Regions from separate parts of the Homo sapiens genome. Here region 2 is linked to region 1. The links are contacts of gene promoters, found by promoter capture Hi-C in blood cells and fetal thymus (Javierre and others, 2016). All regions are on one chromosome and are shown on one strand. The core of a region is centred on a gene start or on the middle of the fragment in contact, and the rest is flanking DNA. Distances in the headings are between cores, read along the strand shown. Region 1 holds the start of TMA16 (translation machinery associated 16 homolog). Region 2 has its middle 350 kb from the start of FSTL5.

Evidence for each region. Contacts are between HindIII fragments. The CHiCAGO score rates a contact against its expected background, and 5 or more counts as called.
Region 2: a contact is called between a fragment that was not itself captured here and the fragment with the promoter of TMA16 in region 1, in 1 of 17 cell types (M2 macrophages). The highest score is 6.1, in M2 macrophages.

Annotation. Positions count from the first base shown.
Region 1 is chr4:163,490,283-163,496,762 of GRCh38, reverse strand. It overlaps TMA16 (translation machinery associated 16 homolog), which reads right to left and starts at 2,073. Exons shown (of 7, transcript NM_018352.3): 1 at 1,959-2,073. The coding sequence starts at 1,961. LOC124900805 (a long non-coding RNA gene) reads left to right here and starts at 1,539. Exons shown (of 2, transcript XR_007058354.1): 1 at 1,539-1,601; 2 at 1,867-4,749. RefSeq lists enhancers at 1,497-1,646, 1,677-1,816, 1,280-2,182 and a cis regulatory region at 3,464-3,735. The HindIII fragment of the contact is 17,381 bases long and covers 1-6,480 here.
Region 2 is chr4:162,508,959-162,514,564 of GRCh38, reverse strand. No RefSeq gene overlaps it. Among named protein-coding and RNA genes, the nearest start is that of FSTL5, 350 kb to the right of the region's middle. The HindIII fragment of the contact is 2,348 bases long and covers 1,806-4,153 here.

The sequences.
Region 1 (6,480 bases), core at 824-3,323:
AGCTGGGTGTGGTGGCTGGCACCTGTAACCCCAGCTACTCGGGAGGCTGAGGCAGGAGAATCACTTGAATCCAGGAGGCGGAGGTTGCAATGAGCCGCGATCATGCCACTGGACTCCACCCTGGGCAACAAGAGCAAAACACCGTCTCAAAAAAAAATAAAAAATAATAAACACTAAAAACCTTTTTAATGCAGCATAAAGAAGTGTTGAGTGGAATGGATTAATTTGAAAAGATTATTTATATATAACAGGTAAACTAAATTTTGATATAAAGATATGAACTTGCTAAGCTCCAGCAAAGATTTACAATAAGAGAACATTAATGAGCAAAGTAACAAGGATGAACAACTATAAGCTGTACACTGTTACTATTTATATAACTAAAGTTAATAACAATAACATTTACTAAGTGCCAGGCACTAGACTAAGCACTTTACATTTAATTTCCACAATTCTATGAGGTAGGTACTATTGTTATCCCAATTAAACAGATGGGAGGTTAAGTAATTTTGCCAAGATGGCAACTCAGGGAAAGACAGGTGCCCAACTCTGTCCTTTGGGACCACATTCTGAGCTGTACTGAAAGAGGATGCAGCAAAACCACTAATGAGGTTATATCAAAAAAAAATGACAGAGCCAGAAATGAGCCAATGAAAACAGGTTCATATGCCACTCTTTTGACTTCTATGCCAAAGCAACGTACTTCTACTATACAGCCTGATAAAAAGTGAAGCTCTGATAGTCAAGGACAACTACAGTCAAATACCAATCTATCTCCCCAATCACTCAAACACAATGAGATGTAATTGCTTTCATATTCCACTCTGAAAAGGGGAAAAAAACTAACACTATAAAGAGTTGGAAATCCCACAAGCAAAGTGACAAGCAAACACTGAATTTACACAAATGTGTACAATCTAAAGTACAAAATATGCGTCAGCAGTGGATCAAAATAAAGCACAAAAAACTCGCGAAACAACGAAAGAACCAGACTGTAAGACAAAAATGGCATACAATGAAAAGAGAAAAAAATGAAAAGAAACAAAGAGGCCACATTGTGGACACAATATCGTAACTTCTGACCAGATTATAAACTTTTAAAATTTTGCTTTTATTAAAAATTAATTGAAAAAAATTTATAAAGCATGTTTCTATGCAAGAATTACTCTCAAGAACACAACGATTACGTAAAAAATAGGCAAGAAACAACATACTGTTTCAAAATACAAATATATGTAGTAACTATAAAGAAAAGTAGTGAAATTATAAATACAAAACTTAGATAATGTTTGCTTCTTAAGGTTTCCTGAAAGTTCAAAGAAGGTAACACAGGGCTTTCAAAGGCTATGTTTTATTTCTTAAAACTACAAAATGGGTAAACGAGAATTCCTGAAACTGTTCATCTTTACACTTGAAATGTGCTTTAGTAACACTCTTTTGTATCTACTCAGTTTTTAATAAAAACAACAAAACTGCTTCAGTGCCCTGGAGCGAATGGGGGCGTAACGGCAGGATTCAGGGCACTAACGAGAGGTGAACGGACGCCGAGGAAGAGGCGACTAAGCCCACATACTGAGTCTACCCAGGCCAGAGAGGCAGAGGTGTGTAGGGCCAGCGATCTCAGAAGTTTTGCCAAACTCCTCGATGCGTTACAATGGAAAGGTGCCGGGTTTCCCCCAGGAAGTAGTGACTAGCGAGAAGTTAGGCACAAGGCAAAGAGGAGCAAGGCGACGTGTGAGCACTTCAGCACTCGGACGCGGAACTCTAAGGTCCAGGCGTTGGGCCTGGGACTCGCCTCCCAGAGGCTTCGCCCCGCACCCCGCACACTCCCTGAAAATAAACACTTTGCATCCTCCCCTCTCCTAGGTTCCCGAAACCGCACCCTCCCTCTCTGCCTGCTCAACAAGAGCCTTCCGGGGAACCAACCGAGCGGTTCGGGGGAGCAGGAGGGGGCCCACCATGGTGACGTCCTCGTGGCCACGGAGCAGCTCCGCACTCTAGACCCAGGTAATCTCACCAACCGCAGGAGCAGCAGCTCACAAGAGCACCCGGGCCGAATCCCACGTGGCGCCTGAGAAGCCCGCGCCGACCCAACCGGAACAGGAGAGGCGAGTGCGTTTCTCTAAAGCGTCCCCGTTAACTGAGACCGCGTCTTTTTCGCCCGTGTTGGGCTTTTAAGCTCTAGCCCAACGGACAGCCAGACCTGCGTGCTCGCCGGGAGCGGCGGAAGGGAGCTTGCGGCGGGAGGCTGAACTCTGCCTGGTGCTGAGTGCGAGGCTGGGGATTGGAGCCCGGGTGGAGACGCTACACGCTTCCGGCCCCAAGAGCGGAGCTTGCCCATCTGTCCCAGAGCACGACTCCAGAGCGCAGCAACCTCTTCAGACAAGAGGTTCCCTCTTGCGGGCTCCCGCATCTCAGGGGCTGGGACCCTCTCAAAAGGGCCGCTCGGTGTTGGCTCCCCGGAGCTCTTGCACGGCACAGGCTCCTGCCCTCCGCTTTTCCACGTACTAGATTACCTTGGGCAAGTCCTTTCCTGCACTGAGTCTTTTTTTGCCCTGCCCTGCCCTGCCCTGCCCTGCCCCGCCCCGCCCCTCTTCTCTTTCCTTTCTTTTCTTTTCTTCTTTCCCTCTTTCCCGCCTTCCCTCATTCCCTCTTTCTTTCTTCCTCCCGGGTTCAAGCGATTCTCCTGCCTCAGCCTCCCGAACAGCTGGAATTACAGGCCTCCGCCACCACGCCCGGCTAATTTTTTTTTTTTTTTTTTTTTTTTGTATTTTTAGTAGAGACGGGGTTTCGCCGTGTTGGCCAGGCTGGTCTCGAACTCCTGATCTCAGGTGATCCGTCCGCCTCGGCCTCCCAAAGTGCTGAGATTACAGGCCTGAGCCACCACGCCCGGCCGAGTCTTAGTTTCTTTATCCGGAAAGGCCACTTCCTCATATTCAAGGCCTCTGCCAACCCAGTTTTTGTTTTCTTCTCACAGCATGTGAGAGTCTTTGTTTCACCCATACATGTTAGAATTCCGTAGACAATGTAATCATTCAAAAACTATTTATTGAATGCCTACTGTGTGCCTGGTACTGGGGATACTCCAACAATATCCCTCACTCAGCTCATTTTCCAGGGGATGGAGGCATGTAAAAATATTATTTCAAATAATATAAGTACTCTAATAAAAATTAGCTGGCGGGGGCATGTAGAAAAGCTGTTTTACACATGGTGGTCTCTATAAAGTCCTCTTTTAGAAGTGATAATTGAGCAGAGACCGGAATTGTAAGAGAAAACTAGGCATGGGAAGAAGCTCCAGGCAGGGTGAAGCTGGTGTGCCTTGATATGTGTGTGCAGCTGTTAACAGTTGAGGGTAGTTGGCTAGGTCCTTGGCGTTTTGAACAAATAATTGGACAAAACACACAAATAAAGCAAGGCAGCGAAAGCAGAGATTTATTTTAAATGAAAGTACACTACTCCACTGCGTGGAAGCAGGCTGTGGCAAGCTGCTCAAAAGCACAGGTTGCAGAATTTTCTGGGGTTTAAATACCTTCTAGAGGTTTCCCATTGGTCTTCCACAAGTCTGATTGGTTGAGGAAGGGGACCAATCTGAGGCACTTTCATTTTTCAACTGCCACACAGAAAAAGAAGGGCTTGCAACTGCCAGGCAGCAACTGCCATGCAGAAAAAGGAGGGGTTGAAGGGGAGTAGTCTTTCAACTGATATCCCATCAGCACAAATCAGTCCTAGCTTCCCTGCTTCCAGACCCTATTCTCCTGCCGCACAAATACTTGTATTTAATCGACAGATATATCAATTTTTGGAAATAATTTAAATTGTAAACAAGAGTGTGTCCAGAAGATTCCTGAATCTAGGGGCAAGGTATTTTCACATGGCTTTTTTTGTGTGTGAATCTATGCAATGAAGGTCACCTTTGAATATATACTGTGGAGGCAGCACATTCATGCATCACTTAAGGACGGGGATACTTTCTGAGAAATATTTCAATGGGGGTTTTGTTGTTTGTTTTTTGTCATGTGAATATCATAGAGCACACTTACACAAGCCTGCATGGTATAGCTTACTACCCACCTAAGCTGTATGGTATAGCCCATTGCTCCTAGGCCACAAACCTGTACAGCATGTTACTCTACTGAATACTGTAGGCAATTGTAACACAATGGTAAGTACTTGTGTATCTAAACATAAGAAATGTACAGTAAAAATATAATCTCATGGGATCACCATTGTAATGCAGTCCATGACCAAAACATTGTTACATGCACATGACGGTACTCTGTGAAAGACTCCAATTAATCTAGAATATTTACACCCTAGCTCCATACTTTAGCCACTTCCTGTGAAGCCATCTTTCACCCACCCTACCCCATTCCCTAAGTCTGGCCCTGTGGAGATCACCCTCCTAAGTTCTATGTTACTGCAAATCTTTTAATTATTAAATTTTCCTTCTGGCTATTTTAGCTGTTACTGATTGCTCTATTGATCATAAAATTCCTACCTACTCCTAACCCATTCCTAAACTTCAAATTGCCAACAACTCAATAAACCATATATCTTGAAACTTTTATTTTTTATTTTTAGTTGAGTTTTAGAAATAAATCTTCATATTTTCCTCATTCAGATTCAACCCCTAAATAACATTGATTATAGACATGTTAAAAATATACTGTATATGTTCAAAATACACTGTAGCAAATACAAACATGAATTATACAGAGCAAGAATAAAGATAATAATGATGGCTAATGTTTTGTCATTGTTTAATATATGTATGCACCACTGTGATAAGCAAAATGAATCCCCCAACTTTTCCCCTCCCAATTCAACCTCCCCTTTGCCCCGTGCAATAACCACTGTAGATGATTTGGAGACATCTTTAGAGATATTTTCCTGTACTTTAACAAATATACTCAGATGTGTGTGTATGTGTGTGTTGTATGTATGTGTGAGGATTAAGTATTGATTAACATTAGGTATTGATACAATAAGTACAAATGCATAATTCTAGTGTCACAACTAAAAGAATAGAAACAGGGTACCTAACTTTGTACAGGCTACACACAAGTAGAGAAAATAAAATAAATGGAATGATTAAAATATACTCAGGTAATTCCAACTAAGAAAATAAAGGAGAAAACATGAAACATAAGACAGGAAAACAAAAAAAAATATGGCAGTAGATTTAAATCCATAAAACAGTAATTACGAAATAACTGCCCCCAACTAAAAAAAAGTCAGATTGTATTGAAAACATCCAACTGTATCCTGTTTATAAGACACATCTAAGGTACACGAAAATAGAAAAATAAATGGAAAGAGTTATGCTAGGTGAATGCTAACTGAAACAATCCTGGTATACATATATCAATGTTATACGAAATAGACTTTAGGTCAAAAAGTAATATGGTATATATAAAAGATCACTTCATAATGATAAAAAGTTTCCATTTTAAATTCATGTGCATCTAGTAACACAGCCCCAAAATATATAATGGAAAAGCCGATGCAGTTTCAAGTTGAAAAACCAACAGCCTTGGTGGAAATTTTAGCATGCCATTTTTCAGTAAATAATAGAACAAACAGATAAACAATCACCAATGACTGAGAAGACTTGACCACAACAAAATTTGACCTAACAAATCTACACAGAATAGTGCTTCCAGTTCTTACAAGAATACGTGTGTTCTTAAATACGTATGGTATAGTTAACAACATTGATCACACATTAGGTCAGAAAGCAAGTCTAAACAAATCTGAAAGGATTTAAATCTATAGAATATGTTCTCTGACCACCTCATAATTAAACTAGAAACCAATAACAAGGAGACAACTAGAGAATTGTCATATATTGAGAAATTTAAAAATTGTGCTTTGAAATAAGTCAGGAACTAAAGAAGTCATAATGAGAATTAGAAAATAGTTTGGGCTGAACAATAACAAAAACAATAAATATCCAAACTAGTGGGATGCACCTGAAGTAATAATTAGCTCCATTCATGTAAATATTAGAGGCTTCAGTATAAATATTAGAAAAGAAGAAAGACTGAACATTAAGAACTAGCCATCCATATGTCAAGAGGTTAGGGAAAAAAAAAAACCAACAAAATAAGGTCAAAAAAGGAGGTAGAATAGAATAAAAAGCATAAACTATTGAAACAAGGACAAAAACCTACGTAATTGAGGACCGGGAGAGCCAAAGGTGTTTTTTTTTAAATTTTTTAAGAATAATAAAATATTTTCCTATGTTAAAATTACAGGCCTAGATTTTTGTAAAATACACCCAGGTGCAGTGGCTCACGTCTGTAATCCCAGCACTTTGGGAGGCCAAGGTAGGCAGATCACTTGAGGTCAGGAGTTCGGAGTGTGAGACCAGCCTGGCCATCATGGTGAAACCCTGTCTCTACTGAAAATACAAAAATCAGCTAGGCATGGTGCTGCATGCTTGTAACCCCAGCTACTTGGGAGGCTGAGGTGGGA
Region 2 (5,606 bases), core at 1,730-4,229, 980 kb after region 1:
CATAAGTCATATAGAAAAAAATACAAAAATGATGCTACAAGCTCATAATGTATTTCCATAATGGGCTTTGAATATTTGAATATAGTGCTGTGATAATAACATAGGCCCAGTTGCGTGAAATATTCATGTTTAAATTTTTTGTTGTTTTATTTATAAAGCATTGCTGTGAAGGTTTGAATGCAGACTTTCAAATTTTGAGAAATTTGAAAACAAATCACAGTGGTTTTGATAGCTTCTTTTGAATCATGGGATTGATTAAAGCAAGAGAATGCCAAATATCCATTGAAATTAAGTGAAATGAACTTAAATTGATCAGTTTTCCTCAAAGAGTTAGACGAGTTGCCTATGCAAGGTCATTTCTATTAAGTTCTGAAAGTAGTTGAGTCATTGACACCCCTGCTCAGATTTGCTGTTTGAATTGATATCGGGAAGTTTTGGCCAATGTGTGTGAGGTAAGGAAGAAGACATTTCAGAATTTCTTTTTTCTTCACTCTTGATTCATCAAGTACAGGCCTGAGAGATTCTGAAGAACTTCATCAAACCTGACGTTTATTTCCCACCCATTTTTTTAAACAAATACTCATGTTATGCTTTAGAAACATATAGTGTCACATTTTTCATATTTATTTTTTAAAAAATATGCATAGTCCCTGACTGAAAGATGCTATTAATCTATACAATGAATTAAAATAAAACCTCATTGCAAATATTAGTTCACAAGGTACAATCATCCATATATTCAGTAATGTGTCATCACTGTCAAGAGAATTCCAAGGATGCTTTTTGCCGCTTCTCTCTTCCAGAAAAGAGAACACTGATATAATATACAAAGTTGTAATAGACATAGACTCATCAATGATAGGATGTGGTCACCAGTAGTGGTTGAAAGTCTGAAACAAAAAAGATTAAAATTAAATGTGCTTGGGAAAATTCTCTCTCCTCTTCGATTGTGCTTTTCCTATTTTGGAACCATAATAAGATTCAGCTAAGAATGTGCTCTCCGCCTTAGAAAGACAAGTAGGAACAAAAACAGAAAGAAGTAAGAAAACATGGAGGAACAGGTTTATGTGTGGCTCAAATCTAATCTGTTTCTAAAAAGTCAGAATGAGCTTATGCATGATGAATGAGTCCAGCTCAATAGGGTGAGAGAACCTATAAGAATTTGGAGCCAAACTTCTACATAGAAGTAATATGTATGTATTTATGGAAATGTCCTTCTTGTAAATGTGTAGCTCCAAAGTGTATCTCTTTGTGGACATAGGGAATTGAAAAGCAATGGCTGTGTTAACTAGCTATTTGGTTTGCTCAAAATTCTCATATCAAAACTCTTGTGAATTTGGATGCTGCTTCTATTTTTAATATATTGTTCTCTGTGACATTGGCATAGCATCATTCCATAGATTGCAGTGACCAGGAAAGCAATAGAAAGCTTTTGATTGCTACCTAAGAATCATTGTGAATAAATACATTCAAAAGAAAAGAAATCATTATCAAAGTTGAACACAAAGCTAAAGACATTATAACTTAAAGACTTTCCATTTTTGTGTAAAGCACTTATTTAAATTAGATTTATGTGGACCTTGAATAATCCATTTCCTTTCTGGAGTCCATTTGGAATTTTTTCTTTGGAATCTGCTATTTAAATTAAGGCTGTCAGGAAACGTTACCATGGTTACTTGCATCACCTGAGCCTGAAATGAGAGTTTTTGAATATTTTCATTTCTATGCTATCATCACTGCCTTATGTACAAGGCAATTATATCTTTGGGGGTTAATAATACATTTTACTACCTTTATATGAAGCTTGTTTATAACCCATTGAGATACTGCAAATGTACGCGTCCACTGAAAATGAAACTCTGTGTCCATTTCATTCACGTGGGAGACAGGATAGGAGAAAAGGGCAACTTAACTCCAGAGGATGATTTGAATTTGGCATTTTCTTAGGGGACAGATATACAGTGCCCATTGTTTCTTCTGTCTACTATTTTTAACATTTTTATTTTGCTTATTCTTTTCCGTTATTCTATCTGTAGTAAATAAAGACCTGCATCCTAGACCCTTAAGTTTAGATCCTTCTTGACCAACCCAAGAGCTTTATTCCTTAAATTATTCCTAAGTCTTTCCTCACAGTCCTACTAAATCTATTCCCTGTAAGATTCCTTAACTGAATGTGGCAAATAGCCAAACATGGCCAAAGTCCACAGCTAAAGGTGATGGCTAATAGATTCATTGAATTTCCACACTTGTTGACCAGATTTCTCTATATTTTAACATGCAGAGATATAATGAAAACACAATTCTTTATACAGAATAAAAATGTGATACTTCCCATAAGAGATTGACATTAAAGGTCTTGCATATCCTGTCTTTTAGAAATACACTTTTAATATCATTCTTTGTCCACCTCACCCTAACAAGATAAGATTCACCTCAAAAGCTCGGGCTTCATTGTGCAGGCTTCAGTTCTTGCATTCATAGCACAGTGGTGAAGTAGCCACTTGGAATCCAAATTGCCATCAAGGACAATTCTAAAGAAACGTCCAATAGTATAGTATGTCCTGTGTTCTTTCAATTTCCTCTTCCACAAAGCAGTGAATAAGGCTTAATGATCTTCATAAATTTTTATGGCATCAGTATTTGCAGAGAATTGGAGGATCCCCTTCCAAACTCAGAATTAACACAATGATAATATAATTATTATTTGCCTAGTAATTTATAAAGAATTGCTACATACATTACCACATTTTATCATAGACTCAACCCTAGGAAGCACATAGGACAAGAATGTTCATTATCTCCATCTTATATTTATGGAAAACAAAAATTTAGACATGGGACGTAATTTATCTGAGATTACATGATTGATCAGAATATGACCCCAAGGTGATTGATGATAAATCCCAAGAGCTGTCTCTTATATATTACGGTCCCTTCTCTTTAATCTCCACACCCAAGTCTAAAAAAGTAAATAACTTGTGCTTAGGATCTAAAATAGAACACAATGAGAAAAGTCAGGTATGTTTGTTTTTTCCTTTTCCTGACTTTTATTAGTGTTTTTTTTTCTCATTTAAAAATAAGTATACTTTTTCAATTCTTCTTCTAGGTAAAAATTAAAACACAAAATGCTCATTTGTTCTAGTTTTCTAATTTTGCATGTTTCTTTGTATGACAATGTCTATAATTAGAGTTTAATTCTATCCATCTATTCTGTTTTTATAGATAAGAATGTTTTATATATTTTTAAATCTGATTGAGTTTTTTTCATAAGGCACAAATCTCTTTGTCTAATTCACCTAATAATATAGGAAAAAGCCAGATTACCCCCAGAACAGTAGATGTTCAGATGTCTGACAGGCAATTTCCTGGAATAGCCCACCTCTGAGAGGATAAGCACACATGATACGCCAGATAGAAACAACTGAGTGGTGGCAGAGTACAACTAAACATAGCATTAGAGTAAGTGGCTGCATTAGTTACAGTCAACGGAAATTTCCAGAAAATAGGTCTAGGCTTTTAGTGAGAGTCTGTTCTCTAATTCTACTCAACGCATTAAATTCATTTTCCAGAAACTAATTTGAAGTTTCTCTATCCAAACATAATCTATAGAGATCTTTAAGCATTTTGGTGAATTTTGAAATTATTCTAAGAATGAATTGTATTGCCTTAATATAGCATAGTATTTAAAGGGCATATTTTCTGAGTATACTTTATATTGCCACTGACTGAAACATACAGTTATAATAGTGGTTCTTCCTCTTTTAGGTATATATTTATTCACTTTCCAGCAATATATACCAAAATTATGCTCTTATTAGTATTGTATTATTACAAAATTTGTTTCATAGTGTATATGTGCTTTTTATCCTTTTTATAAATTTAATGGTGTATAAAACCCACATTATAGCTCACATGTGCTTTAATCAGCAATGTATAAGAGCTATAATGATGAAGAGGAAATGGAAAGACCTTTGTGGAAGAAGAAATGGAAAGAACACAGGGCATATTTTCCCATAACCTCACTAAACTGGTATATTTTTGATATATTACATTTGTGAAGTGTAGGACATGATCTTTATTTTTTATTTTGCATTTCTGAACTCTGGAGGCATGAGGATCAGGTTTGCGGTAGTTCGGAAGGTCTGGAAAAGCTTTTCCAAGGAATTGCTGACCAAGCTGACACCTGAAGGGGTCAGGAGAGCTGATTCACTGAGGAGTGAGAACACTAGAGCACAGGCAGAAAGCACAGCACACATTCGAGAAACAGAAAGAAGGCCCCAAGGCCTGGAGCAAAGTCAGGAAGGGGCGCTTTGTTTAGATGAGGCTGGCAAGATAGCTCAGCCAAGGCCTGTCAATACATGGTGTTAGAGGCCATTTTAAGAACTGTGCTCTTTATCCAAGAACAATGAGAGACATTGAAGAGTTTTAAGCTGAGGGTGTGAGCATATTCTGGTTTGCCTGCCCAACACTGATTCTTCATGTGAGGATTAGGGTTGAATGTTGGAGGAAAAGAGTGAAAGCAATAAGGCTGGTTTTGATGCTCTTGCTGTGCTGATGATACAGCACTGCTCCCTGCCTTCTTTGCTCTCTATCACCACAAAAGAAAAGCCACCACAGCTGTGTACTCAAATGTGCACACCCTAGACCTTGCCATGACCTTGACCCCAACCCTTGCAATTTATTATCTCTTCCTATTCTTGTGATCCCACTCCAAAATTATTTGACCTCATTAAGACCTCCAATTCAGTGAACTTACCATTTTTTCACTATAATTCATAATCTATTATCCCTTTTATGGCTTCATATTTGTCACCCAACTGAGATTTCATGGTCCAGCACTATAATAATATCATGGAAAATTTTCTATTCTTTTTTCCTTCTGCTATTCACACCTGTCAGGCCTTTGGCCAAACCCAACTACCTATCTACATTATAATTCAACTGAAGCAGCTGAGCACTGACAGAAACACACCACACAACCAGGTTCACTGGGCTCATATAAACTTCATGAACAAAACTTAAAAATGAATACTCAGCAAATATAGAGTACTTTACTTTCTTGGTAAATTCATTTTCTCTTTTCCTAAAATGGCTTTTTTATACCATATCCTCTTTCCTCAAGTTTCCTAAAATTCTCCACATTTCTCAATTTGAAGTGTTGCCTTTTTCACATTTCACTAAAAAGTAAGATCAGTGAAAAATAAAATCATCCTTCTACCACCAACTCCGCCAACCTACCTGCATCTGTAATAAGATAGTCCTTGTAGGGATTGACATGAAAATGGAATATTTCTCCTCTCTCTCTAGGGCCAATTTAATTTTGAATTAGACTTTGCTTACTATCACATTCCTAAGACTTCTACCTTGCATTCTGTCTTCTGCATAAAATTTGTCTTATCTCTTTTGAAATACTCTAATCAAAACACAAACATATTTTAACATAAATATCTTTAAAATAATCTCATTTGAGCTCAGATTTGTTTTTCAGCTACTCCTCATATATTTCTTTCCTTCCCGTAAGACTAAAACTGCTAGAAAAAAATTGTCTTTGTCTATTGGTGTCTCTCTTTCCGTATTTCCAGATTTTTCCTCAACCAGTTTTAATT